Regions from separate parts of the Homo sapiens genome. Here regions 1, 2 and 4 are each linked to region 3. Evidence: promoter capture Hi-C in 16 types of primary human blood cells and fetal thymus (Javierre and others, 2016). All regions are on one chromosome and are shown on one strand. Each heading gives the region's core, a stretch centred on a gene start or on the middle of the fragment in contact. The rest is flanking DNA. Distances are from core to core; before and after follow the strand shown. Region 1 holds the start of LOC124905149 (a long non-coding RNA gene). Region 2 holds the start of ZBED4 (zinc finger BED-type containing 4). Region 3 holds the start of PANX2 (pannexin 2). Region 4 overlaps BRD1 (bromodomain containing 1).

Region 1 (6,500 bases), core at 1,337-3,836, 460 kb before region 3:
CTCAAAAATGAAAACTAAATTCTACCTTTACATTAGCATATTATTAATACTAAAGCTAATTTTAATAAAAACTTAAAAACAGATCCATTCAATCTCAATCAGCTTTGACCACATAAGATTTCCATAAACCTTTAATAACCTCTTAAAATTTGTTCCATTCTTTGTTTCTCAAACTTTCTATATATATTCAGTTTTATCTATCATTTTTTTATTCCTTTAATTTAAAACAACCTTTAAAAACATCAAAACTAGACAAAATTACTTTTCCTTTAACAAAAACCTCATTCTCATGCCTTCTTTATAACCTTCCTTACCAAAAACACATCCTACTTTCTTATAAACTTTGCATACAGAAGTGTTTCTCTTATATCTAGTAGTTTTAAATACATATATTAATTACAATGTTAACTCTTAGGAAGCCTAATTTTCAGTGAAAAACATGGGAAGTAAGCAATTTTAATTGTTATTAAAGATGCAAAGCCCAGGACAAAGGACAGAGCTTTAAAGACTGATATGGTTTGGCTGTGTCCCCACCCAAATCTCATCTTGAACTGTAGTTCCCAAAATCCACAGGTGTTGTGGGAGGGACCCAGTGGGAGGTGATTAGATGAAGGGGGCGGTTCCCCCACGCTGTTTTTGTGCTAGTGAGTTCTCACGAGGTCTCATGGTTTCATGAGGTGCTTCCCCACTCTTCGCTCTGCACACCTCCTTCCTGACCTCATGTGAAGAACGTGTTTGCTTCCTCTTCCGCCATGATTGTAAGTTTCCTGAGGCTTCCCAGCCACGCTGAACTGTGAGTCAATTAAACCTCTTTCCTTTACAAATCACCCAGTCTCAGGTATGTCTTTATTAGCAGTGTGAGAATGGGCTACTACAAAGACAATGCCTGGAGGACTCAACCCCTCCCAGCATGACCGGGGGGCACAGCTGGGCCAGGGAGGACAATGCTCGGGCACTGCAGACACACAGCATGACCGGGGGGCACAGCTGGGCAAGAGAGGACAATGCTCGGGCACTGCAGACACACAGCATGGCTGGGGCGCACAGCTGGGCTAGGGAGGACGGGGCTCAGGCACTGCAGACACACAGTATGGCCGGGGGGCACAGCTGGGCTAGGGAGGACGGGGCTCGGGCACTGCAGACAAACAGCATGACCGGGGGGTACAGCTGGGCCAGGGAGGATGGGGCTTAGGTACTGCGGACACACAGATGTCTCCAGGCCACATCATGTCCACTTGTCTTGACCCCAGAATGTAGAGGCTCAAAGCCAAAGACCTAAGTTCACAGACAAATTAAGCAAGTATCAGAAATATGACAGAAGCAAATTTTATGACCTTAAAGCATCTAACAGAGACTGTCTGAACCTGTCCGACCAATGGGCCCAAGCAAAGATGTCTCAATTATATTTAAGACTGACGACTTTGAAGATATTCTAATTTTAGCATCATTTTTTTTTTTGAGATGGAGTCTCACTCTGTCACCCAGGCTAGAGTGCAGTAGTGCAGTCTCGGCTCACTGCAACCTCTACCTCCCAGGTTCAAGTGATTCTCCTGCCTCAGCCTCCTGAGTAGCTAGGACTACAGGCGCATGCCACCACGCCTGGCTAATTTTTGTATTTTTAGTAGAGACGGGGTTTCACCATGTTGGCCAGGATGGTCTCGATCTCTTGACCTCGTGATTTGCCCGCCTCAGCCTCCCAAAGTGCTGGGATTACAGGTGTGAGCCACTGCACCCAGCAGCAACAATTTTAAAACTAAGTTTATTTGCCAAAGATTACTAGTCACATGAACTAGAAAAGCATCTGGGTTTAGTTACATCATTCATGAGCACTTATTTATTTATACGTCAATTTGCTACTATGTACATAATATACAAACAGGCATGTACACATAAAAATACAGACACAAATCAAGATTTTATAGCTTTAGTTTTAAGATTTTAGCCACGAATCGGGTAAAAATCACTAGTTTAAAAGGATACTTAAAATTGTGCCTCTGTAAATGGAACAAGGTAAAATTTATCTGTCTCACACGGCCAAAGCCCTTACCAAGTTTTAGAGAAAACAAGGCAACAAATTTACATCTTGAAGCACAGAGAAAAAAAAATTATTTTTATTTACTGAATTTTTTCAAGACGGAGTCTTGCTCTGTCGCCCAGGTTGGAGTGCAACGGCACGATCTTGACTCACTGCAACCTCTGCCTCCTTGGTTCAAGCAATTCCACAGGGAGAAAGTTTAAGCTTTGATTTAGTATGTTAAAGGAAGATTTTAAATGGATGCTGAGGTAACAAAAAGTCATAGAAATTCACCACAGGATTTTATAAGGACAACAATGTTATTTAAATATGTGGCTATTAATTTATTCTCCATTTTTGAACTAGACCACTGGGCTCAGGACAGAGCTCATTAATGAACATGGCCAAAAAAGCATTTGCAGTTTGGAGGACCTAATATTTAAATATGTGAAAAACAGGTGCAGCTGGAAGGCAGAGCATCTAGATCTTTTAAAATCAAGGATCCCACATTTACACTGAATGCTGAGTTCCCTCTAAAAAGAGATATATATGAGACAAAGCCATACAGTGTTTCCACAGTGTACCTCACTATGAAGACATTCCCCTGAGGCTGGTGGGAGACCCACAGCAATCAGCCCACGGAGTCTCAGCCTTTGACGCCAAGTGCTTCCATAGTCTCCAAGTGTTCAGATTGTGCCTTTCTCATCTAAACATGCAGAGAAACAAGCAGCCACTGCAGGAACAACCATTCACTACAACTGCTTTCAGCCACCTCCAAAACTGTGAGGCAGCCCTCGCCAGTGACCTGCCGGCCATCACACACACTCAGGTCATGCACTGTCTCACAGTGCAACGTAATCCCTGGTACCCCCAAAGCCAAAGAGATCCAGTGACACAGTGCCAAAGACAGCCAAGCTTTAGACCCGAGAGGAAGCTACCCACGACTCCTCAGGCCCCATAAGGAAGACAAAAGCGGGGCGCGTGGCACCTTTCTTTGCGTTCCCCAAGGGGTCTCTAAGTCATCAGAAGTCCCTTGTAGATCCCTTCATTAGGTACCAAAGATGGCAAAGGGGATGGAGGAGCACGGAGGGGTAGAAGTAAATGGGACTGCAATCCTTAGAGGAGCCAATTTGGAAAAATGTTAAGGTTCTAAAAGGCCAATACAATTTTACATTTTTCTCATCAAAATTATACCAACAAAGGAACCAAACAGAAGGACCAAACACACAATTTAAAGGGGTTTCAGTCACCTGAAAAAAAAATTCCCAGAAACAGGGTCCAAAAGCAGAAAAGGCTGTAGATACATGGCTTGAAGATCAGCTCACCTGTTTTTAATTAAGCCAACTTCTGACCACAGAGCTCTTTTTTAAAATCCTTTCAAATATCTTATTATCAGATTTTAGCTGAGACCAACAGCTGATAGCCATGGCTTTGAGACCTTTTTTTTTAAAACCAAAGGTACCTCCCAAGTGACTCACCAAAACCAATAAGCCTTAACTAAAGCTATGGACTTAACCAAGGACACATAAGCCATCTCCAAAGAGGCGCAAAGCAGTCCTGATGACATCCAGAGCCACCCCAAAGAGCTCAAAGAAAGGAAATCAAAAGCTGCCAGTGGAGGGGGAAAGGGTCAACAACAAATGAGTTCCGCACAAAGTCAAAAGTTGGCTGGGTGCGTGGCTCACGCTGGTAATCCCAGCACTTTGGGAGGCCGAGGCAGCCGGATCACAAGGTCAGGAGTTCGAGACCAGCCTGGCCAACACGGTGAAACCCCATGTCTACTAAAAATACAAAAAAAAAAAAGAAAAAAAAAGAAAATTAGCTGGGCGTGGTGGCTCACACCTGTAATCCCAGCACTCTGGGAGGCCAAGGCGGGAGGATCACGAGGTCAGGAGTTCGAGACCAGCCTGGCCAACATGGTGAAACCCCATCTCTACTAAAAATACACACACACAAAAAAATCAGCCGGGCGTGGTGGCTCACACCTGTAATCCCAGCTACTCCAGAGGCTGAGGCAGGAGAATTGCTTAAACCCAGGAGGCAGAGGGTGCAGTGAGCCAAGATCATGCCACTGCACTCCAGCCTGGGCGACAGAGCAAGACTCCGTCTCCAAAAAAAAAACAAAAGAAAGAATTCAAAAGTCACACAAATATCAAACCAAAAGGGACTGGTTCCTCTATTGGGAATTGAACCCAGGCCATGGTAGTGAAAGTACAGAATTTTAAGTAGTTTCCAAGATGCAGCAGTCTTCATTGTGAATCCTGCAGGGATCCAAAGCAATGGTTTGCGCGCACAAAGGATTTTAACTTGTTACAGGTCAGATTTTTGCTCTTTAATTTTGTGAAGAGGATTTCTAAGGCTAGCCACAACATTATTATGTGTCTTTCCTTTAATCTCCCCACAAATACAAATAAGGCAATTGTTTAGAATGAGAGACCTCTAAAATCTTTTTTTTTTTTTAATTTAGGGATCTTTCTAATGTAAAGGATTCATCTTTTGGCTATTGACAATCAGAATTTCCAATGATGTATTTATTCCAATAGCAACTCAATCCAAGAAGCCCCTTCATGGAAAGCCCAAAAGATTATTTTCCAGGTTTAGAGAGGGCATAGAAGAGGAGGTTCCAATGATGCCCCCAAAATTCACTCCCAGGAATAGGCAAAGACAGCAAAAGACTCTTGTTCCCAGAGACAGTTAAGGAACGTGTTTGTACATACAGTGCCTCCAGTAACACACAATCTGTCAGGGGCTGCCAGTCACAGACCCATTAACCTGTAACACAGGGTAGGCCTGTTGGGATTGGGCTTTCTGAGGACTGACCAGGCAACAAACATTGGGATGACAAAAGCCCCTTATGGATGGGCCTGAGGAGAGCAAAAACCACCTGGCGACCATCAAACATCAAACAGGCCCTCCGAGGCAAAACTCCTTATCTGGGGAAAATCAAAAGTAACTAAACCTCCCTATTATCTAAAGCAGGCATCTGGTTCCAGATTTCTTCCCCCAAAAAACGTGTAAGTAACTATAATTTCTATGTGTCTCCAGAATACCATGACGAAACTCACTGTACAACCGTCGCTGACATTAAGGCACCAAAATTACTATAAATGTAATCATTTATCATGACTTACGTGGCTAATATGGTCCAAATTACTGTTAAGCCTCCACTTTAAGGCCTATAAATGCCCTTAAGGAGAAATCCACCCGGCGTACTCAGTCCTCTTGCTGAGGCACCTCATTGCACTCTTCTGCAGCATTCTAATAAACTTTCTTTCTTTTCTTTTTTTTTCTTTTTTTTTTTTTTGAGATGGAGTTTCACTCTTGTTGCCCAGGCTGGAGTGCAATGGTATGATCTCAGCTCACCACAACCTCCATCTCCCAGGTTCAAGCGATTCTCCTGCCTCAGCCTCCCAAGTAGCTGGGAATACAGGCTCCCGACACCATGCCCAGCTAATTTTTTGTATTTTTAGTAGAGATGGGGTTTCATCATGTTGGCCAGGCTGGTCTTGAACTCCTGCCCTCAGGTGATCCACCTGCCTCAGCATCCCAAAGTGCTGGGATTACAGGCGTGAGCCACCGTGCCCGGCAAACTTTCTTTTTTCTTTTTTTTTTTGAGACAGTCTTGCTCTGTCTCAGCTCACTGCAACCTCCGCCTCCCAGGTTCAAGCAATTCTCCTGCCTCAGCCTTCCAAGTAGCTGGGATTACAGCCACGCACCACCACACCTGGCTAAGTTTTATACTTTCAGTAGAGACAGGGTTTCTCCATGTTGGCCAGGCTGGTCTCAAACTCCTGACCTCAGGTGATCCACCCACCTTGGACTTCCAAAGTGCTGAGAGTACAAGCATGAGCCACTATGCCCGGCCAAACTTTCCTTTTTCAAACCTATTGTCGGTAAACTCTTTTTACCAACCCGCAAGTTGACCACCACTCCCAGTGCCGGGGCTCTGACAGCTCGCCTGGCAGGGACTTCTTAAGACAAACTAAAAGCTTGACACATTCAGAACAAAAACGGTGCTGCTTAAAATATTAAATGTCTTGGGTTCCCAACCATTTTCAGACTGACCACAAAATGTGACCTGCGAGTCACTACCTCGGATTGGCAGAGGCCAAGAGAGTGCTCCTGAGGTAGGAGGTGGGACTTAGTTGACCCAGTTGAGGATTGGCTAAAACAGGGTTGGGGCAATAGCAGCTTTCAGTCAGATATGCCCGCCACTGTGCCATGTCAGTTTACCATTGCCATGGCAACACCCAGGAGTTGCCACCCCTTTCCATGGCAATGACCCAATGATGACTACTCCTTCCCTAGAAACTTCTGCATAAACCATCCTTTAATCTACATGCAATCAAAAGTGCGTATAAATGTGACTGCAAAACTGCCCTGAGCTGCTACTCTCAGCCTACGGGGTGGCCCTGCTCTGCAGGAGCAGTCACAGAGCTCTAACGCCACCTGTTCAATAAAGCTGTTTTCTTCTACCTCTGGCTTG
Region 2 (6,454 bases), core at 3,128-5,627, 320 kb after region 3:
GAGCATCACAAAACAAAAGGCTTTACTAGATTATGACATGGAATAAATAAAATCCACTAGTCCACCTTGATACTCAAGGAAGACAAAGGAAAAGTAAAAATTTGCCCCCACAGAGGTGTCTACTAGACCATCTTCCGCTAAGAATTGGTAATAAAGAGAAAGAACTCAGCATTTTCTAAGACGTAACAAAGAAGGGAAACACAGACAAAAATAAAGAAAAAAAGAACAACAGCATACTAAAGCCAAGGTGCCACTGCCCACAGGTTCTGGGGAGACCAGCAAACAGCATGTGGAGGTCTGATGGGAGCAGAGCGTCCACACACCCCGAGACACCCCCTCATCTAACTCGCCAACTGTGGGGGGCAGGGACACAATTTAAAGGGCCAGTGAGCAAAGTCGCATCCGTCCTCATGGGACAGCCTCCGCCCACAGTGCAGCACACAGCATCACCTGCGCCCCAAACGTGCCCCTGTATCAAATCAGGCCTCCCACCGCCAGATCACAGGGGGTGCTCCGGGGGCACCGGAACGCAAAGAGACCTCACAGCCACTGTGACACGTGGCCCTGTACTCGATTCTGGTTGGGAAAAACAGCTAGTAAAGACGTTGGGGGACAACTTCAGACCGTGGACTGGCTACTGGATGACGCCAAGGGACACAGTCACGTTTTGTAGACGCCATCGATGACGCGACTGTCATTAGACAGTAGAATGTCCCTTTCCCTTTCTTAGGAGAAAGAACACTTAGAGAAGTGTCCAGATATCTGCAGTTTCCTTCAAGACAGTTCAGCACGTGCCAGGTGGCAGCTGGTGGCAGTCACGGTAGCTCCAGCTGGGGGCAAGGGACGTAGGAGTGCCAACTCTGTAAGTTAGAAACTTTATAATAACCTTCAAACAACAGAAATATATTCGTGTTCAACTCAGAGCACACGCACTCTCAACAAGCTGTCGAGTATACCCAGGGAGGCAAAGAGCTATGCATCAAGACTCCGGGCCTGGTTCAGACGGGGACATGGCAGTTTCTCCTCCTGAGGACATAAACTACCATCGGGGCTACACCTGAGTAGCCTTCACCTATTCTGGGGGTGCACAGCAGCATCAACTGCCACAAATTCCAGCAGGAGCCATGGCTCACAACAGCTGCCCACACAGAAGCCAACATCCAGGTCTGGGCTAAACTGAGAAGGGGGCCGGGCACGGTGGCTCACGCCTGTAATCCCAGCCCTTTGGGAGGCAAAGGCGGGTGGATCACCTAAGGTCAGGAGTTTGAGACCAGCCTGGCCAACATGGTGACAGCCCATCTCTACTAAAAATACAAAAACTGGCTGGGCGCGGTGGCTCACGCCTGTAGTCCTGTCCTGGCACTTTGGGAGGCCAAGGTGGACGGATCACGAGATCAGGAGATCGAGACCACCCTGGCCAACATGGTGAAACCCCGTCTCTACTAAAAATGCAAAAAAAAATTAACCGGGCACGGTGGCGCACGCCTATTGTAATCCCAGCTACTCAGGAGACTGAGGAAGGAGAATCGCTTTAACCTGGGAGGTAGAGGTTGCAGGGAGCTGAGATTGTGCCATTGCACTCCAGCCTGGGTGACAGAGCAAGATTCCATCTCAAAAAACAAACAAAAATTAGCTGAGTGCGGTGGCGGGTGCCTGTAATTCCAGCTACTCAGGGAGCTAAGGCAGCAGAATCACTTGAATCCAGGAGACAGAGGTTGCAGTGAGCCGAGATTGTAACACTGCACTCCAGCCTGAGTGACAGAGTGAGAATAAACAAACAAACAAACAAACTGAGAAGGGGAACCCAAAGCTAAAGGTCAAAGACAGTGGCAAGGGGTCTGACTCCAGAAACCCGGAGTCAGAGCTGCTCTGTCAGACGTGCTCAGGAACCCAGGTAAGGGCGTCTTGGAAACGGCACCTTCCAGAGCAAGCCAGCGACCACGCTAAGGTCAGCTGGTCCGTGTTCCATCCCTGAAATGTTCTGGGTCACACGACAGGGTCATGTGGATTGTTCTGCTAGGTGGTTTTGTGGGTCCCCTGTATTTAACACCAGCACCCTCGCCGTGTACCCATACCTTGGGGGTCCGGGCAGTCCCACTAGTGACAGGCCTGACATCGCAGCTATGGCTGAACGCTGCTGGGGAGTCTCTCACTTACAGGATGTGGAGCATGGCTTCTATGACGGAGCAACCAGAGCTCTCCGAAATGCACATGCTCCCGACCCTGCTCCCTGCAGCAAACAGGTGGAGCAGAGACCACCAGGTGGGCCTCGATGAGGAGCAGCTTTGGAGGAAGTCAGCCCCTCAGGGTTTGTCTGTGGAGGTGGCAAGGCAGGAAGGGCGGGGGGCCAGGTCCTCCCGACCCTAATCAGGTAGGGGGCTGCAGCAGTCACAACCCCATCCCCAGGGCCAGGCCAGCATCAGCTGTTTCTATTGCACACAGAGTTTGCTGGGAAAGACATGGGCCATGGCTGCTGAAAAGCCTTCACCTAGAATGAGGTGGGAAGCTGGCTGGCATTGCAGCGCGGCCTTCACCTAGAACGAGGGGTGGGAAGCCGGCCGGGATTCCAGCGCGGCCTTCACCTAGAACGAGGGGTGGGAAGCCGGCCGGGATTCCAGCGCGGCCTTCACCTAGAACGAGAGGTGGGAAGCCGGCCGGGATTCCAGCGCGGCCTTCACCTAGAACGAGGGATGGGAAGCCGGCCGGGATTCCAGCGCGGCCTTCACCTAGAACGAGGGATGGGAAGCCGGCCGGGATTCCAGTGTGGGTCATTTAGGCTGCATGTCCCCTGAATTCCGAAACAACCCGGGGGAGCTGGGAGGCGGCTTCAGCAGCAGGCGCTTGGGCCGGGCAGGAGGTACGCACTGGGATGCCGTGAGGCTGCCTCTGCACCTCATGGACAATGCTCTCCTGGGGCTTCCGCCATCGCCCCCAGACCCTTCAGGGCAACCTCCTCTCCCTATGAGGTCTCCGGAGCATGCTTTCCTGAGAAACTGGGATTACCCCTGCTCTCACCTGCCGGTGTTTCTCCTTGAAGCACTTACTGAGCCTTTTTCTCTGGTTTACGCTGCTCCTCACCACCACCATGTTCCCTACGGCCAGGGCCTTCTTTGAAAACCACCATGGCCCCAGCAGGCAGAGAGGCAAGCACCTCTGTCTCTCCTGCTCCCCTCCGCCTCAGAAATGGCAAAGAGCTTATTTTATTCCTAACAATGCCTCCCAGAATTTGAACTACAAAAGCACATATCCAGTGATGACCAAGGAAGGGATCTGAGGTACTGCAGAATGTAGAAAAACCTAGGTGCTAAAAAGTGGGGAGCAGAAGGGCCTGGAAGGCTGGGATGCAGAGAGGCCCGAATCCTTGAAAGGGCTGAAGCCAGAGAGCTGCTGGAATCCACAGACACTAAAAGAGAAAGCCAAAACCAAACCGCTAAGGGGTGTCACGGGCTAAAGGCACAGTGACTTTCTTACACAGCCAAATGTAAATAAGAGCAATTCCTATAGGTACATTCTCAGGTCCTGAGATTTAAACAGTGAAGGAAACAACGTTGGTAAGGAAGGGCCAGCTTGGCCTCTACCCCAGGGCTGGGCAAAGCCACGCCCAGCTGTTTCACCTGCTCCCTCCTCTCAAAAGACAACCACCACACCAAAGAGAATGAGACCAGAAGCTAAAGCCAGGCAAAGAAAAAAACGCAAAACAAAGTGAAGGACGGCACTGACCACGGTCACTTCCTGCTCCTCATGCCGCCAGGAGTCCACTCCCCAGGGCTCCTCACCAAGGATCTGAGACACACACACACACACACCTTTCGCTAAAGAAGCTGCTTCTCAGCTCCTCTGCACACACACAGAAGTCAGTCCGCTCCCCTAGTAATTTTTTTAGTCTTTCTGCAAGGTGTTATGGACATACTTTGCACAGCTGAGTTACTCACTGTGTGTGTGGAGGGGGTTGGGGAGGAGGTAACCTTAAAGAGCAGAGGTTTTACATCCAACAACATCAACCACCTTATTCAGGAATTACCTGGACAAGAGTGTGTGTTGGGGGAGACCCTGTAACCACCTGTCAAGTGGACTAAAAGTCTTAGGTTTCTTTCCATATAGATTAACTGTGTCCTCACCTCAAAGACCGGGCCTCTGAAGCTTTTTCAAGATTCACAGAATCTCTCTTAACTTGTGCTAGATCTTTTCTTGAAAAAAAGCCAATCATGACAAGCAGATATAATCCGTTTAAGGACTACGGGAAGTGTGCAGCCTTGTACGGACGTCCCATTGGAAACCCTCGGAGTATGGAATCAAACTCCTGTAAACTTTCCTCTTGCAAAGTAACTTTGTTTAGTAATTGCAATTAATTCATAATCAAAATGTGGCTTATTCATAGCACTTAAAAAAAAATCCCAACCAAATCCTTCCTAGCCTCAATTTTGTCACTATGAATGACATACACAGAAAAAATAAAAAACATTTCTGTGTAAAAAGTCGCAGGATGCCCTTGCTTTACCAAACTGGCCTCACTATGAGGTCTGAATGGATTTCTAAAAACGTAATCTGATCAGAGTTAACTTCAAAATAAATAACTTCCCTTTCGACCAACACGAGAACACCAACAGAAGCTTCTGACGGCTCAGCTTGGCCGGGACGTGTTTCCACAGAGGTGCCCGGGTCTACCAGGGCCACCCGGAATAGAAAGGCGCAGAAGGGAGCCCGAGGGGCTGCGATTCTCTTAGCAACGAAGGCGGTGTGGGCCACACAACGGGACAAAAGAAGAAACAAAACTGACTGCGAGCTCATTTGGGTGTAGGAAAACCACTGCAGTCGAAAAACATTTGAAATTATGGTTCGCAAGGCAAGTTACATTTTTATTCATTAAATGTGAACGGTCATCCCCAGAACCACGTACAATAACCTGCCTCGGGGCGCGTCGCAAGGACCCGTCTGGGCTGAGACATGAAGCAGGGCCCAGGTGGCCCTTCCTGGAGGTGGGACGGGAATGACACGTCCAGAGAAGTCCCAGGGACGGGGCTCGCGGGGTTAACTCGACGTGGCCGGGACAGCGCGCTCCCGGCGGACCCGGGCGGCGCCCCGAGCCCGAGCCCCGTCCCGTCCGCCCGGAAGCAACGGCGCGGGCACGTGGGCCAGGCCGGGCGCCGACCCCCGGCACTCGGCCGCTCAGTCGGCGCCGCCCCCGCGCCAGCTGTCAGGGCCGGGGTCCGCGCGGGGGCGGGTCCGGGGCGGCGCCGGGCGGGGACCCCGAGGCCACGGAACCGCGCCCCCGCCCGCCTGGCCCCGGCCCTGGCCCCGGCGCGGCGCAGACAATGGCGCGGCCCGGCCCGGCCCCGGCGCGGTCCGCGGGGGACGGGGCTCGCGGCAGGCGGCGGGGCGGCGGCGCCCGCGCACTCACCTCGGCCCGGCCTCTGGGGCGGCTCCCGGCCGGCTGCGGACGACGGCGGCGCGGGCGGACGCTCCATTCATTACCGCGGCTTTGTCTGCCCCCGCGCCCCTCCCGCGGCCCCGCCGCCCGCCGCCCGCGACGCCGCCGGACGCTGCGCCCCTCCCAGGGCCCCGCGCGGCGCGGGGCGGGGCTGGCCGGGGGCGGGGCCGATCGGGGGCGGGGCCTACTCTCGCAGGCGCAGTGTCCGCGTACCCGCCCCGCCTCGTCCCTGGCCGGGCGGGAGGACGGAGCGCCGGAGGCCCGGCCGCTGGGGCGGGGTCGGGCGGAAGACGCAGGCGCAATGCGCGCTTCGGCTCCGCCCCCGGGTCCAGGAGGGCAAACTACGCAGGCGCAGTGGGCGCTCCGGCGCTGGCGGGCGACGGGAAGGGCTTAGGCGCTCTGGCTGGGCGGGGCGCGGGCGCCTTGGTTTCGTCCCGTGGCTTGGCAGTTGGCAGCGGCTCGGCGCGCACCCAACGGCCCACCGCGGGTTTCCGGGACGGCTAGCAGCGCGGTTCCCGGTCCCGCCCCGAACCCCCTTACCTGGCGCAGAGGCCGCTCAGTGCGGTGCGGTCAGGCCTCGTGGGCTGGGACCTAAGCCGTTGACCCTAAGGCGATCGGGGCTCCCCGCGCGGCCCCCCCGGGGGACGGGATTAACGCCTAAGCCCCAAGCCGGGTCGGCGGGAGGAGGGCGGCCCTCTGGGCGAGCGCGGGGCCGGGGCTGGCGGTGCGGAGCGCACGGGACTCGCCCGCTTCTCAGGGTCTGAAGGAAATGTGCACTTTTAATGTGTTATTTCCTAACACAAATGTTTGAGCAGACCAAATAAACTCTGCATGCTGAATGTGGCCCCGAGGTCCCCCGTTGGTGACACGGCTTTCGGCATTTTCTCGGCCTGAGTGTGAGAGTGAGAGGAGCCCGCGTGGCGGTCACCGGCTGGAGCGGGAGCGTGGAGTTATCACGGCCGCCTCTGCCCGGAGCCCGCCCCTGCCCCGCGGCTGTGCCCCTTCACCCGCACGCCGACTGTTCCA
Region 3 (6,886 bases), core at 3,746-6,245:
ATCTACCAGTCCAGACAGCCTGCTCAGGGAGGGTTCCCATGAGTCATCAGATCCCCCTGAGGGTCCTGGGGACTCTGGAGGGTTTGGGAGGGAGCCTGGGAAGAGGCAGGAAAAGCTGGGACCTGAGGCCCGAGTCCTCGGTGGGGACATCGAGCTGGAGATGAGCTGGGCTCAGAGAAGAGCAAACCGGACAAGGCAAAGGAATCCACTCTCTTGGTTGAGAAAATGGCATATTTTATTTACTTATGTTTTGTCCTCACAGCCAATCCCAGGAGCCAGAGAAGAGCGTCCACCCTGGGGAAGAGAACAGGGACAGGTTTGTGTCCCGTCCTGAGCTGGGCCCATCCCTGGCAGCCACCCTTGCTGGGCATGTGTGGCCAACATGGGTGGGGAGAGGCCCCAGAACCCTGGACCCAGACTCCAGTAGGGCCGCAGGGAGATGGGAAGGAGGGCTCCTTGGCTCTGGGGCAGGGGGCGGCCTGGCCTCCTCCAAGGTGGATGAAAGCAGGGGCCCCACACCGAGCCACGTGTCTGGCGAGCTGCCCCCACTGTGCGGAGCCCCACTTGGACCCGAACTCCTCATGCCTGTCACTGTCTCCCTGCCGGATGGCGGCAGCAAGGGGAAGCCAAGTCCTGCTTGCCACTCCGACCTCAGTTTCCTCATCTGCTCCACCAAGGATACTGCCTTGACTCACTGCAGGTGACCGGCCCGGCCCTTTGGGGGCCCCAAGGCATGTCCAGCAAGGCTTCCCTCCTCCCTGGACCCGCTGCACCTGCAGGGTACAGGGTGCTCCTGGCAGCCTCAGCAGGTCCTGACGGACTCAAAGCTGTGCTGGCAGCCGGGCCTTTCCCGGTGGATGCTGCCACAGCTTCTAGCAGGGGCTGCCAGGGCCGGGGGTGCTGGCCTGACTCGGGGTGGGGCAGCAGAGAGGGGCTGCTGAGCCCAAATCCACGGGCCCATCCCACACGCAGCGACTGCTACGGGTCCTCTGTCCGAGGCCCTCCTCTGGGACTTCCCAGGGACAGTGGGACCCTGCCTGGGCCAGTGCAGGTGTCCAAACGGAAGGCAGGAAGGCCTGGCCCATCCAACAGGGCAGACAGAGCCGCCGCCAGGGGCCCGTTTCTTGGAAGACATTGCTGTGTGGATCCTGGCCATGCCAGCTATGCCCCGAGAGGACACTGGCTTCCCAGCCAAGGAGCCTGTCCACACCCAGCCCTCAGAGCCCCAGTGACAATATCAGAGTTGGCAGCCAGGGGCCTGGTGCTGCTTGGAGCACCTCTGAGCGGGTGTCTGAATACACCCCAACACGGCCCATATTCCCATATTCAGAATGCCGTCCCCAGGACCCGAGGCTAAAGCCCAGCCCCCCCGGCCCTCCCCCAGTCCTGCCCTTCTTCGGTTCTGCCATCCCCAAGCTCATCTCCAGCCCACCCCTGCGATCTGGCCTGCACATGGCCCCAAGGTGCCCCCCAAGGGTGAAGCTGGGTCCCTCCCAACAGCCCTTTCCACCCCTGTCCTCCCACCTGGGGAGTGGGGACACCTCTCCAGGACACCCCTGGCTCTGCGCAGCCTCCTCCTGCCTGCTGGCCAAACCCTGTCTGGTCACCCCAGACCACTGCCACATCCTGGAAGCCCTCAGCCGAGGCCAGGCCCTGGCCCTTCCCCGACTCCCCTGGCCTTACAGACCTCCACATGGGGTCTGCAGTGAGCAGAATCATGGCCCCCAAAGATGCCACATCCCAACCCCGGAGCCTGTGGCGGTGTCACGTTTCCCGGTTCACGAGGACTTTGCAGACATGCCTAGGCTGGGGGTCTTGGTGGGCAGCAATTGCAGGGTTCTTCTAAGAGGGTCAGAGTCAGGGAGGAGATGTGAGGACAGAAGTGGGGCTGGGAGAGAGAACGCCACGCAGCCGGCTCTGAGGACGCAGGAAGGGCTGCAAGGCCAGGAATGTGGAGGCCTCTGGAGGCCGGAGAAGGCAGAAAGTGGGTTCCCCCTTGGAGCCAGCCCTGCTGACACCTTCGTTTTAGCCCCATGAGACTCGCATCTGGCTTCTGACTTGTAGGTTTGTTCCAGCAGCCACAGGAAGCTAATCCTGGCGGTGGCTGCGCACCTGCTACATTCTCCACTCTCTGCAGGCTGAGGGGGGCCGAGACCCTTCCCCAGCCCACCTTGGAGACCCTGGGACTTGGCCCCCAACCTTCGAGGGTACTGCATCCTGAGACAGCAGCTGGCCACACGGGCCCTCAGGCCCAACCCTGCCCTGCGGCATCAGGGGCTGCGCTCGGCCCTCCAAGGATGATGAAGCCAAAAAGAGGAACCAGCCCATAGGCTCCTGGGAGGGTGCTCGGGGGCAGAGCGCTCGCTTCCTTTCCGCTTTAAAGAAGAAAGTTGGGCCGGGTGCGGTGGCTCATGCCTGTAATCCCAGCAATTTGGGAGGCCGAGGCGGGCGGATCACCTGAGATCAGGAGATCGAGACCAGCCTGGCCAACATGGCAAAACCCCGTCTCTACTAAAAATACAAAAAATGGGTCAGGCACGGTGGCTCAACGCCTGTAATCCCAGCACTTTGGGAGGCCAAGGTGGGCGGATCACGAGGTCAGGAGATCGAGACCATCCTGGCCAACATGGCAAAACCCCGTCTCTACTAAAAATACAAAAAATTAGCCGGGCATGGTGGCGGGCGCCTGTAGTCCCAGCTACTTGGGAGGCTGAGGCAGGAGAATGGTGTGAACCCAGGAGGCGAAGCTTGCAGTGAGCAGAGATCGCGCCACTATACTCCAGCCTGGGTGACAGAGCGAGACTCTGTCTCAAAAAAAAAAAAAAAAAAATGAGCCAGGCGTGGTGGCGGGTGCCTGTAGTCCCAGCTACTTGGGAAGCTGAAGCAGGAGAATCGCTTGAACCCGGGAGGCAAAGGTCGCAGTGAGCCGACATCGCACCACTGCACTCCAGCCTGGGTGACAGAGCGAGACTTTGTCTCAAAAAATAAAAATAAAAAAAGCGGGGGGGTGGTGAAGAAGAGAAAAGGGCACAGTGGCTCACGCCTGTAGTCCCAGCACTTTGGGAAGCTGAGATGGGAGGATCACTTGAGCCCAGGAGTTTGAGACCAGCCTGGGGAACATGGCACAAAAATTAGCTGGGTGTGGTGTGGGATGCCTGTGGTCCCTGCTACTGGGGGCTCGGGGCTGAGGCAGGAAGAACACCTGAGCCCGAGAGGTGGAGGTTGCAGATCGCACCACCGCACTCCAGCCTGGGCGACATACCAAGACTCTGTCTCAAAAAAAAAGGAAATTTGGACACAGACAGGGAGGGAAGAAGCCCATGAGAAGACAGAGGCAGAGACTGGTGGCACGGCCACGAGCCAAGGCGCCCAAGGATTGCCGGCAGCACCAGAGGCTGAAGAGGCTGGAATGTCCCTTTCCTAGAGCTGTGGGAGGGAGCAGGGCCCTGCCGACACCTCGATTTTGGACTTTTGGCCTCCGGAACCATGAGAGATAAATGTCTGCTGTTTGAAACTGCCTAGTTTGCGGTACTTGGTTGCTACAAACACAGAGAACACACGTGGTGTCTGGACATGCTGGGCCTGCCCCAAGGCCCCACCGCACGCCTGGGCTCCCTGCTCTGCAGAGTGTGCTGTGTGCCCACCCCAGGGGTCCTCTAATCCCCGGGGTCTGGCCTCCAGTGTCGAAGAGGAGACCAGCAGAGGCCTCCTCCACCCCTGGGTGGGATCAGACAGCCTGGCCAATGTCCACCCTCAGGCCTGGTGTCTCCAGGCCACGGGGACTCCTTAAGGCAAGGCATCTGGGAGATTTGGGAAGCGCCAGTGCTGAGGCAGGGTCTGCTGAGGTTTGGAGGCTGCAGAAGAGAGGGCCCCAGGGTCCCAACACCCCTCCCCGCTGCAGACTAGTACCTCTGGGCCACACAGGCCAGGAGACCCTGATCCCCCTTGCCTTGGCCCAGACCCCAGGGGAGGAAGTTCTCGGCTCCACCTGTCTCGCCCCACTCCTTGGGGAGGGCAGAGGCACCAGGACCCCACCCCGCAGAGGCTCACAGGCAGGCTGGCTGCTCTGTCCATCTTCCTGCCTCGCCTGGGTGGCTTCAAGTGCCCCCACAGGTCCTGATCTAACCAGCGCGGGTCCCTGCCCTGGTCCAGCCCCCATCTCCCTGCAGGAGCTCCAGGCTCCCTGCTCTGACACGTGGCCCTGCCCCATGCTAGCCCCCCTGCTTCAAACCTTCGGAGGCCCCCAGTGCACCCGGAGAGGCCTCGCCCTGCCTGAGGGGTGGAGGGCCTGGGCCTCTCAGAGACTCTCTCTGCCCTCCTTCCACCCAAGTCCAGCCTGGGAACCCTGCCCGGCAGCTCCACCAGCCCCTGTAATCAGCTCTCTGCTGTCAACACCCATCCCGGCCTTTCCTGGTCCCCACCTGGCCACCCTGCATCCCCTCAGGCGCTGCTTGTGACATTCTCCAAACCAGACCCCGTGTCTCATGACATTTGGGACCCCTGGGTCCAGACAGGCCTAGTCCCACCCGCGGCCATGGGCGGACGAATGGAAGGAAGAACAACAATAAAATAGAGACGAGGGGTCTGTGCGACCAGCGACACCTGCTAGGATGGGGGCGGCTGTGGAAGGTGCCTGGGACGCCGCGGACGCAGCCAGGCCACGGTGGGCGCGGCTGGACGGAGCCGCCGGGGACGCGGGAAGCGCCAGCTCCCGGACACCTGCGGACGCCCCCTCTGCCCGCGCCCCGCGCCCCGGCCGCCGGCCTCACCTGCGAAGTTCTTGGTGAAGACCAGGGTGACCAGCAGGATGGGCACCAGCACGGTGCCGATGGTGACCACCCGGTCGAACGGCAGCTCCAGCTTCAGCTGCAGAAGCAGCGCGGCCAGCGCGCCCGCCTTGTCGTCCTGCGCGCCCGGCAGGATCAGCTCCCGCAGCTTCTCTCCCGCCAGCAGCGCGGTCGCCATGTCCGCCGACTGCTCCAGGAGGTGGTGCATGGGGGGCGGGGGGCGCGGCCCGGCGGGGGGCGCGGGCGGGGCGGGGGGCGCGGGGCGGGGCCCGGCGAGGGGGGCGCGGGCGGGAGGGGACGCGCGGCGCGGGGGCGGGGATCGGGGAGCGTGGGGGCGCGGGACGGGGACGGGGCCGCGGGCCGCGGGAGAGGGTGGCAGGGGACGCCGGGACCGAGCGGGGGGCTCCGGGGGATGGGAGTAGCCGGAGGCGCGCGGCGGGTGCGGGGCTGGCCGGGCGCGGAGCCCGCAGCGGGGTTTGGGGGGCGCTCCGCCGCCGCCCCCGGGGTCAGGGGGCGGGCGGGCCGGGCCGGGGCGGCGGCGGGGGGCACCGGAGCCGCCCGCCTCCGCCGCAGCCCGGCCCCCGCCCTGGCGCGTGCCTCCGGCGGGGGCGGCGGCGGGATCCCGGCCCGGAGCGCGGGCGGCGGCTGCTGTCCCTGCCTGGGGCCGGCGGCCCCGCTCCCGCCGCGGGGAGGGGGCTGTTTACCTGCGGCGACTCCGCGGCGTGGCTCCGCCCCACCCCGCCCCCCGCCACGCAGATGCGGCGCGGGCGATGACTTTGCAGAAAATATTGAAATGAAATGAAAGGACATGAATGAGTAATGACCGGTCCCTCTTCCTGGGAACGCGGGGTGGCTGGCGGGGGGCTGCCCCGGCCCGCGGGAGGGTGGGCAGGGGTGGGGGCGGCCCTGCGGGGCTCCGGGCTGGGGCGGGGGCGCCGCTCGGTGGCGACGTGAGGACTGGGCGCGCGCTGGGGCTGCCCCCGTCGCATCGCAGGGCCCTTCGCCCAGCCCAGGGCGCAGAGGGGGCTTCCTCGCCTGGGCCCCCCACCTGCCCCGGCCGCGCCCCGCTGTGGGTCCGGAGGTTCCCGCGCTCCTGGGGTGCTGCGGCCACTGGCGGGGAAGCCGGCGCTCTCTTCTCTGGGCTCGGGCGCCAGTGCGCGGGCAATGAGGGCATCTCCCCGCCCCACACCCTCCACTGCAGCCCCGGCCCCACCCGACCCCCCCACCCAGTACCCCCAGTCCCGCCGCCGTGAGTGACCCCATCACCCCCGCTCCTGCAGCCCGCACCTCCTTCCCCCACGCCCCATCCCGTCCCCTGTTCCACAGACGTTCCCGGGGCCTGTGCCAGCTCAGGGGGTCCCCGCCGCCTCCCTGACCTTCATTCCCTCCGCTCCCCACAGCCCCGCCCTCCGTCCTGTTCTCCCTCGGGGAGCCGGGGGTCTGGCTTCAGACGCGGGCGCATCCCGCGTGGTCCCTGCCTCTTCGAGGCAGCCGTTTTCCCTCGTGCAGGTCCCCTTCCCACTATACCAGGACGAACGTGCACGATCTTTCATATAAAAGATTTAGTGTGATTGGAGTTTTAAGTTCATTCAATAATTCATTCCAAAAATGTATTTTGAGCCCGTGTTCACAGGCCCGGCCACTGCTGTGAGCAAACCAGGAGGTCCCCCTGCCTCCCTGGGCTGCGTAGGGGATGTGTCTGCTTTGAGCTTTCACGCCGTCTGCGTTTTTAAAGATCCTTGCATGTTTTCTGAGGGATGCCAGCCCCTGACTTCCAGCAAACTTCATCCTGAGGCAGGCAGTTCAGCTACATCCAATCCCAGCACCCAACCACCCAGTCACCCCAGATAAACCCAGTCACCCCAAATAACCCAGGCACCTCCAGATAAATCAGCCCTGGCAGATAACCCAGTCACCCTGACAACCCAGGCACCCCAGATAAACCAACTCACCCCCCGATAACAGTCACCCCTACCAGATAACCCAGTCACTGCCAGATAAACCAGTCACCTCCCAAATAACCCAGTCACCTCTCACATAACCTATTCACCCCAGATAACCCAGTCACTGCCAGATAAACCAATCACCCCAAATAACCC
Region 4 (6,876 bases), core at 3,294-5,793, 350 kb after region 3:
GTTTCCATGGTGGTCACTGCCAAGGCTCTGCAGAAGCGGGGTTGGGGCCTCCCAGGGGCCAAGACTGTCCCCTCAGACCAGTACAGGGCTCCCCTGTTGGTCCCCTGTGCCGTGTTGTGCGTGTGGAGGGCCTGTCTATAGAGGATGGACAGGCTGTGATCTGTCTCCTACCCCTGGCCCCAGCAGGAATGCTGCAAGGACTGTGGTGACTCTGGGCTCATGGGAGTGCTCTCCTGGGAGTAGTGGGGAGGGGAAGAGTGGTTTAGGGGGAGCATCCGATAGGACCAGGTAGCCACTGAGCATGCCTGTCTGGTGGGCATAGCCTCTGTGCCTGGTGGGGTCCAGCCCTGTATGTGGACTTCCTGGGGGACCGCCTGCATGCTGGGAAAGTCCTGCAACTGTGGGCTCTGGGCCGGACCCCTCCTCCTTGGGGAGCGTTGCTGTGGTCTCCGCAGCCTGTTGGTGTGGTCTGAGAGGGGACTGGTGTGTGGTGGTAGGGACGCAGGTGCTCAGGAGGGCTCCTCAGGCTGCCTCTCTGCCTGTTACTGCTGCTCCCTCCCTGGTCCTGGGGACTCGCTCAGGCCTGGATGTGTGGTTTTGGACACCTTGGAAAGAGGTTAGCTGTGAGTTTTGCTTTGATTGGGCTTTGAGCTGCTGAGCTAGATCTGTCCAAGCATGCTTTTGTGGTTTTCTCGAGTCTTTGGTCACCCTGCGTAGAATTACCTTTACTTTTGCCTTCATTTTAGGTAATCATTACCAAATGAGGAGGAAAGGACGATGTCATCGAGGCTCTGCAGCGAGGCATCCTTCTTCCCCATGCAGTGTTAAACACTCCCCTACGCGAGAAACGCTGACCTACGCTCAAGCTCAAAGGATGGTAGAGATAGAAATTGAAGGGCGCTTGCACAGGATCAGTATTTTTGATCCCCTGGAGATCATATTGGAAGATGACCTCACTGCTCAAGAGATGAGTGAGTGCAACAGCAACAAGGAAAACAGCGAGCGGCCTCCTGTCTGCTTAAGAACTAAGCGTCACAAAAACAACAGAGTCAAAAAGAAAAACGAGGCCCTCCCCAGCGCCCACGGCACGCCGGCCTCGGCCAGTGCCCTCCCGGAGCCCAAGGTGCGCATCGTGGAGTACAGCCCTCCGTCCGCCCCCAGGAGGCCTCCTGTGTACTACAAGTTCATCGAGAAGTCGGCCGAGGAACTGGACAACGAGGTGGAGTATGACATGGACGAGGAGGACTATGCCTGGCTGGAGATCGTCAATGAGAAGCGCAAGGGCGACTGCGTCCCCGCCGTGTCGCAGAGCATGTTTGAGTTCCTGATGGACCGCTTCGAGAAGGAGTCGCACTGCGAGAACCAGAAGCAGGGCGAGCAGCAGTCTCTGATCGACGAGGACGCCGTGTGCTGCATCTGCATGGACGGGGAGTGTCAGAACAGCAACGTGATCCTCTTCTGCGACATGTGCAACCTGGCCGTGCACCAGGAGTGCTACGGGGTGCCCTACATCCCCGAGGGCCAGTGGCTCTGCCGCCACTGCCTGCAGTCGCGGGCCCGGCCCGCCGACTGTGTGCTGTGCCCCAACAAGGGTGGTGCCTTCAAAAAGACAGATGACGACCGCTGGGGTCACGTGGTGTGTGCCCTGTGGATCCCAGAGGTCGGCTTTGCCAACACGGTGTTCATCGAGCCCATCGATGGGGTGAGGAACATCCCTCCAGCCCGGTGGAAACTGACATGCTACCTCTGTAAGCAGAAGGGCGTGGGTGCCTGCATCCAGTGCCACAAAGCAAACTGCTACACAGCATTCCATGTGACGTGTGCCCAGAAGGCTGGCCTGTACATGAAAATGGAGCCCGTGAAGGAACTGACTGGCGGTGGCACCACCTTCTCCGTCAGAAAGACCGCTTACTGTGATGTCCACACGCCTCCAGGCTGCACCCGGAGGCCTCTGAATATTTACGGGGATGTCGAAATGAAAAATGGCGTCTGTCGAAAAGAGAGCTCGGTTAAAACGGTCAGGTCCACATCCAAGGTCAGGAAGAAGGCAAAAAAGGCTAAGAAAGCTCTGGCTGAGCCCTGCGCGGTCCTGCCGACCGTGTGCGCTCCTTATATTCCCCCGCAGAGGTAAGCGTGTCCAAGCATTGAGTCCACAAGGAGCCTGCAGTGTGGGACCCTGGGAGGACGTGGGCACAGCCTGCAGGGCCCGTGCTGTGTGGTCATTGCGTTTCTAGTTGGCGCAGCTTCCTAATATTCCCCTGAAGTGTGGTTCTGCTTGTTTACCACGTCTTTTTGGGGAATAGATGTTGTAAAAGATTTTAGTCTGTAGGCTTGGAATAATCTGTAGTTTTCTATGTTTTTTTTTTTGGAGACGGAGTTTTACTCTGTCGCCCAGGCTGGAGTATAGTGGCGCAATCTCAGCTCACTGCAACCCCCGCCTCCTGGGTTCAAGCAATTCTCCTGCCTCAGACTCCTGAGTAGCTGGGACTGCAGGCGTGCGCCACCATGCCCGACAAATTTTTGTATTTTTTAAGTAGAGACGGGGTTTCACCATGTTGGCTAGGCTGGTCTCAAACGCCTGACCTCAAGTGATCTGCCCGCCTTGGCTTCCCAAAGTGCTGGAATTACAGCACTTGCTCAGCCTTTTTTTTTTTTAAATAGGGTTTTGCTCTGTTGCCCAGGCTGGAGTGTAGTGGCACGATTTCAGCTCTCTGCAACCTCTGCTGCCAGGTTCCAGCAATTCTTGTGTCTCAGCCTCCTGAGTAGCTGGGACTACAGGCGTGTGCTCCCATGCCCAGCTAATTTTGTATTTTTAGTAGAGGCGGGGTTTCACCATGTTGCCCAGGGTGGTCTGGAACTCCTGAGCTCAGGCAGTCTGCCTGCCTCTGCATCCCAAAGTGCTAGGACTATAGGCGTGAGCCACCATGCCCAGCCGTGCGTGAAGATTTTTAAGAATTTCAGTGACTAAACTTTAAGAAGGAATGAAGCCCACGCAGGAACTCTGTATGACTTTCAACCCGAGGGGCTCTGGCCTGGGCTTCCCAGTGACTGCCGGCATCGGGACATCCACTGCTGTGGCCTTGGCCCCGTTTCCCGTGCTGTGCCCCCCACTTGCTGCAGATGCCCTGAGGAAAGGGTGGCCAAACAAGGGGAGGAGCTGTGAGCACAGATGGGGCCTGCCGGTCAACAGGGCGGGTAGAGCCAGCCTGGTGCTGAGCTTGCAGCTTGGCTGGGGGAGACGCCTAGAGCCCCAGTACCACACAGACCCTCCAGGACTGCCGGGGGTCAGTGAGCAGGACCCTCTGAGGTGTCAGACCTGCCCCACATGTGAGGGGAGGACAGCACAGGTGGGACGCATGCAGGCTGAGCTGCATCGGGCGGTGAGGCTGGGAGGTTGCAGTGAGCTAAGATTGTGCTACTGTACCGCAGCCTGCGTGACAGAGTGAAACTGTGTCTCAAAAAAAAAAAAAGAAGTTTTAAGTGATTTTTGTTAATATTACTCTACTTTACCAAAGTGAAGTCCAGTTTCTTTTCACAGAGCTGTAAATACTCAGATAATTAGTCAATTCAGACAGAATGAACAAAAAATGCTCATAATCCTTCCCATCCAGGGAAAACCCTGTCAAAACCAAGGTGTTTGTCTTTGTAAATTAATCTGACTTTGAAGAGATGGTTTTGCTTGGATTTCTACCTATGAGTCAAAAAGTCTAGGGTTTGTATTAAGAGCTTCTGTATAAGAGGTCTAAAAATTTCAGCTTTACTGAAATTGAAGCAAAATAAACAAAATGTGATCTAACAAAATGAAGAGCCAAAAGTCTGAAGTGCTCCCTTCCCTGGCCAGTACCAGATGATGACCTGCTCTGGGAGAGGCCGGGCCTGGCCGGGCCGCACGCTCTCTGTTCTTTGGCTCCTGATGTTGGGTAGGCAGGACTGAAGGAGGCAGTGTTTGCATGCAGGACATGGGGGCTGAAGTGGCCAGGGCTGATTGAGAAGAAAACTCGACCTAAATATTTGAAAGCATGTATTGGAGCTAAACCGCGTACTGTGTGGTTCTGTTCTTTTCCTAACTTGGGAATAAACTATTATTTCAGCTTCGAGTAGAGAGAGAGAAACAAACCTGGACGAGTGTTCCTGGCCGCGGTCTCTGCAGTCTGGGTTTCCCAGTCTCCAGGAGATGCTGGTGCTTCAGGCCACCTTGCCACCAGTGGAGGAGCTCCCAGTGCGCCTGGCCTGTTGGCACCATGGTGCTGGACCCACCTCTGGGGTGGTTGTGAGGGGCAGGCTCTCAATACAGTACTGACTGCTGCCTGAAACCGGGTTTACTGCCTTGCTGTGGTCTGAGAGGCAGCTGATCTGGCAGCCCTGTTCTTAGGCCCTGGGCACTACCCCTGGGTGCATGTAGGAGGCCTCAGCTGTGCATTTGAATTCTGTGTAGATGAGGGTGAAGCTTCTTATTTTTTATTTTATGTTTAGAGACAGGGTCTTGTTCTGTTGCCCACGTTGGAGTGCAGTGGCGTGATCATGGCTTACAGTAGCCTCAAACTCTTGGACTCAAGCGATCTTCCCGCCTCAGCCTCCTCCCAGCCTCAGCTGGGAATACAGGCACGAGCCACTGTGCCTGGCCCATGGTGAAGCTTCTTGATGTGCAGCCGTGGGCGGGGATGCTGAGTCTAGTTGGTTATGGTGTGCACTAACCAATGGCTCCGGTGTAGGACCCACCTAGAGCATCTGAGGATGTTATGCTTCAGGCCAGCCAGTCACGCTGGAAGGGAGATGAGACCCCATCTGAGCAGCGTTTTAGAGATTTTAGAGAAAGAGGATCTTCCTTATTCCCTGTGGACAGAACAGAATCTGCCTTCAGGGACGGACTGCTTTTATAATTCTAGTGGTTTAAAAAATTAAAATTTCAAGTAAAAAAGATAGTTCTTTTTTTTCCCCCCTTTTTTTTGAGGTGGAGTCTTGCTTTGTTGCCCAGGCTGCAGTGCAGTGCGGTGATCTTGGCTCACTGCAACCTCCACCTCCTGGGTTCAAGTGATTCTCCTGCCTCAGCCTCCTGAGTAGCTAGGATTACAGGCACCTGCCACCACACCCGGCCGATTTTTGTATTTTTAGTAGAGACGGGGTTTCACCATGTTGGCCAGGCTGGTCTTGAACTGCTGACCTCAGGTGATCCACCCGCCTCGAACTCCCAAAGTGCTGGGATTACAGGCGTGAGCCACTGCGCCAGGCTAAAAGAGATAGTTTTAAGGTTATAATCTGTTTTTTTGTAAGTTTGATATACTATGATTAAATAATAACAGCGGTAAATAAACACTTTGAAAAACAGGCAGGGCTGGGTGTGTGGCTCACACCTGTAATGCCAGCACTTTGGGAGGCCGAGGTGGGTAGATCACGAGGTCAGGAGTTCGAGACCAGCCTGGCTAACATGGTGAAAACCCATCTGTACTAAAAATATAAAAATTAGCCAGGCGTGGTGGTGCGCGCCTGTAATCCCAGCTATTCAGGAGGCTGAGGCAGGAGAATCTCCTGAACAGAGTCCTGCTCTTCTGCTCAGACGGGTGCAGTGGCATGGTTATGGCTCACTACAGCCTCGACCTCCTGGGCTCAAGCGACTCCCCCACCTCAGCCTCTTGAGTAGCTGGGACCACAGGCATGTGCCACCATGCCCTGCTAATGTTTTTATTTTTTGGTGAGATGGGGTCAAGCAATCTGCCTGCCTCGGCCTCCCAAAGTGCTGAGATTACAGGCGTGAGCCACCATGCCTGGCCTTACATTGATTTATTGTTATTTTTTCTTTTCTGTTCTTCTTTTTTTTCCTGAGATGAAGCCTCGCTCTGTTGCCCAGGCTGGAGTGCAATGGCATAATCTCGGCTCACTGCAGCCTCCACCTCCCAGGTTCAAGCGATCCTCGTTCCTCAGCCTCCCGAGTAGCTGGGACTACAGGTGTGTGCCACGGTGTCTGGCTAATTTTTGTATTTTTTTTGTAGAGATGGGGTTTCACCATGTTGTCCAGGATGGTCTCAAACTCGTGACTTCAGGTGATCTGCCTGCCTTGGCCTCCCAGAGTGCTGAGATTACAGGCGTGAACCACCGCACCCAGCCCTATTTTTTCTTTTCACTTCCTCTCTCCAGCATACATCAGTTTTTATTAACGGATTGAGTTGCACCTGTATAGAATGACATTTTTTTTTTGAGACGGAGTCTTGCTCTGTCACCTAGGCTGGAGCGCAGTGGCACGATCTCGGCTCACTACAAGCTCCACCTCCCGGGTTCACGCCATTCTCCTGCCTCAGCCTCCTGAGTAGCTGGGACCACAGGCGCCCACCACCACACCTGCTAATTTTTTGTATTTTTAGTAGAGACGGGGTTTCACCATGTTAGCCAGGATGGTCTTGATTTCCTGACCTCGTGATCCATCTGCCTCTGCCTCCCAAAGTGCTAGGATTAGAGGCGTGAGCCACCGAGCCCGGCCAGGAGGACATTTTGTCTTTAGTCTTAAAGGAAAAGGGAAAGTCTTTTCCATTTGCACCAGTTTGAAATTAGGGCTCCCTTAACATGGATTACTGCAGGACTCATTCACATGAGAGTTCATACATGGGGTGAAAAGACAAACAGGGTTTCCTGATAACTCTTTTTGGTTATTGCATGAAATGAGGGATAAATACACGCATAATCTGTTTAACAAAACTCCTAGGTTCATCAGAATGCAAAGTAGAAAGTGTCTTAAAAGAGACTGTGATCAGCAGGCAGACGGCCTGTGTCGGTTTGGTTCCTTTGACTGCTTCAGATCTTCTAGGAGGAGCTCCTCTACTACGAGAGCCTGGACTTCAGCCTCACGGACAAGAACCTCAGATAGGCAAGGCTTTGTGATGGGTG

Evidence for each region. Contacts are between HindIII fragments. The CHiCAGO score rates a contact against its expected background, and 5 or more counts as called.
Region 1: a contact is called between a fragment that was not itself captured here and the fragment with the promoter of PANX2 in region 3, in 4 of 17 cell types (naive B cells, activated CD4 T cells, neutrophils and 1 more). The highest score is 6.3, in naive B cells.
Region 2: a fragment that was not itself captured here is called in contact with the fragment with the promoter of PANX2 in region 3 in 1 of 17 cell types (total B cells); the score reaches 5.3 in total B cells.
Region 4: a fragment that was not itself captured here is called in contact with the fragment with the promoter of PANX2 in region 3 in 2 of 17 cell types (total B cells and naive B cells); the score reaches 7.8 in total B cells.

The regions. Positions count from the first base shown.
Region 1 is chr22:50,630,318-50,636,817 of GRCh38, reverse strand. LOC124905149 (a long non-coding RNA gene) reads right to left here and starts at 5,324. Exons shown (of 2, transcript XR_007068161.1): 1 at 2,120-5,324; 2 at 812-1,275. RefSeq lists enhancers at 525-1,039, 1,040-1,556. The HindIII fragment of the contact is 690 bases long and covers 2,242-2,931 here.
Region 2 is chr22:49,852,934-49,859,387 of GRCh38, reverse strand. ZBED4 (zinc finger BED-type containing 4) reads right to left here and starts at 5,544. Exons shown (of 2, transcript NM_014838.3): 1 at 5,399-5,544. It overlaps LOC124905147 (a long non-coding RNA gene), which reads left to right and starts at 1,732. Exons shown (of 2, transcript XR_007068156.1): 1 at 1,732-1,894; 2 at 4,102-4,886. LOC105377205 (a long non-coding RNA gene) reads left to right here and starts at 5,876. Exons shown (of 5, transcript NR_188597.1): 1 at 5,876-6,454. It also overlaps a transcript of ALG12 not described here. RefSeq lists enhancers at 1-448, 2,051-2,711 and silencers at 4,897-5,186, 5,357-6,086, 6,107-6,196. The HindIII fragment of the contact is 470 bases long and covers 4,143-4,612 here.
Region 3 is chr22:50,168,840-50,175,725 of GRCh38, reverse strand. PANX2 (pannexin 2) reads right to left here and starts at 4,995. Exons shown (of 3, transcript NM_052839.4): 1 at 4,770-4,995. The coding sequence starts at 4,995. RefSeq lists an enhancer at 3,470-4,162 and a silencer at 5,762-5,821. The HindIII fragment of the contact is 7,666 bases long and covers 2,750-6,886 here.
Region 4 is chr22:49,818,202-49,825,077 of GRCh38, reverse strand. BRD1 (bromodomain containing 1) reads left to right here. Exons shown (of 13, transcript NM_001304808.3): 2 at 747-2,127. The coding sequence starts at 761. It also overlaps the pseudogene LOC100420885. Among named protein-coding and RNA genes, the nearest start is that of BRD1, 6.2 kb to the left of the region's middle. RefSeq lists an enhancer at 1-529. The HindIII fragment of the contact is 187 bases long and covers 4,450-4,636 here.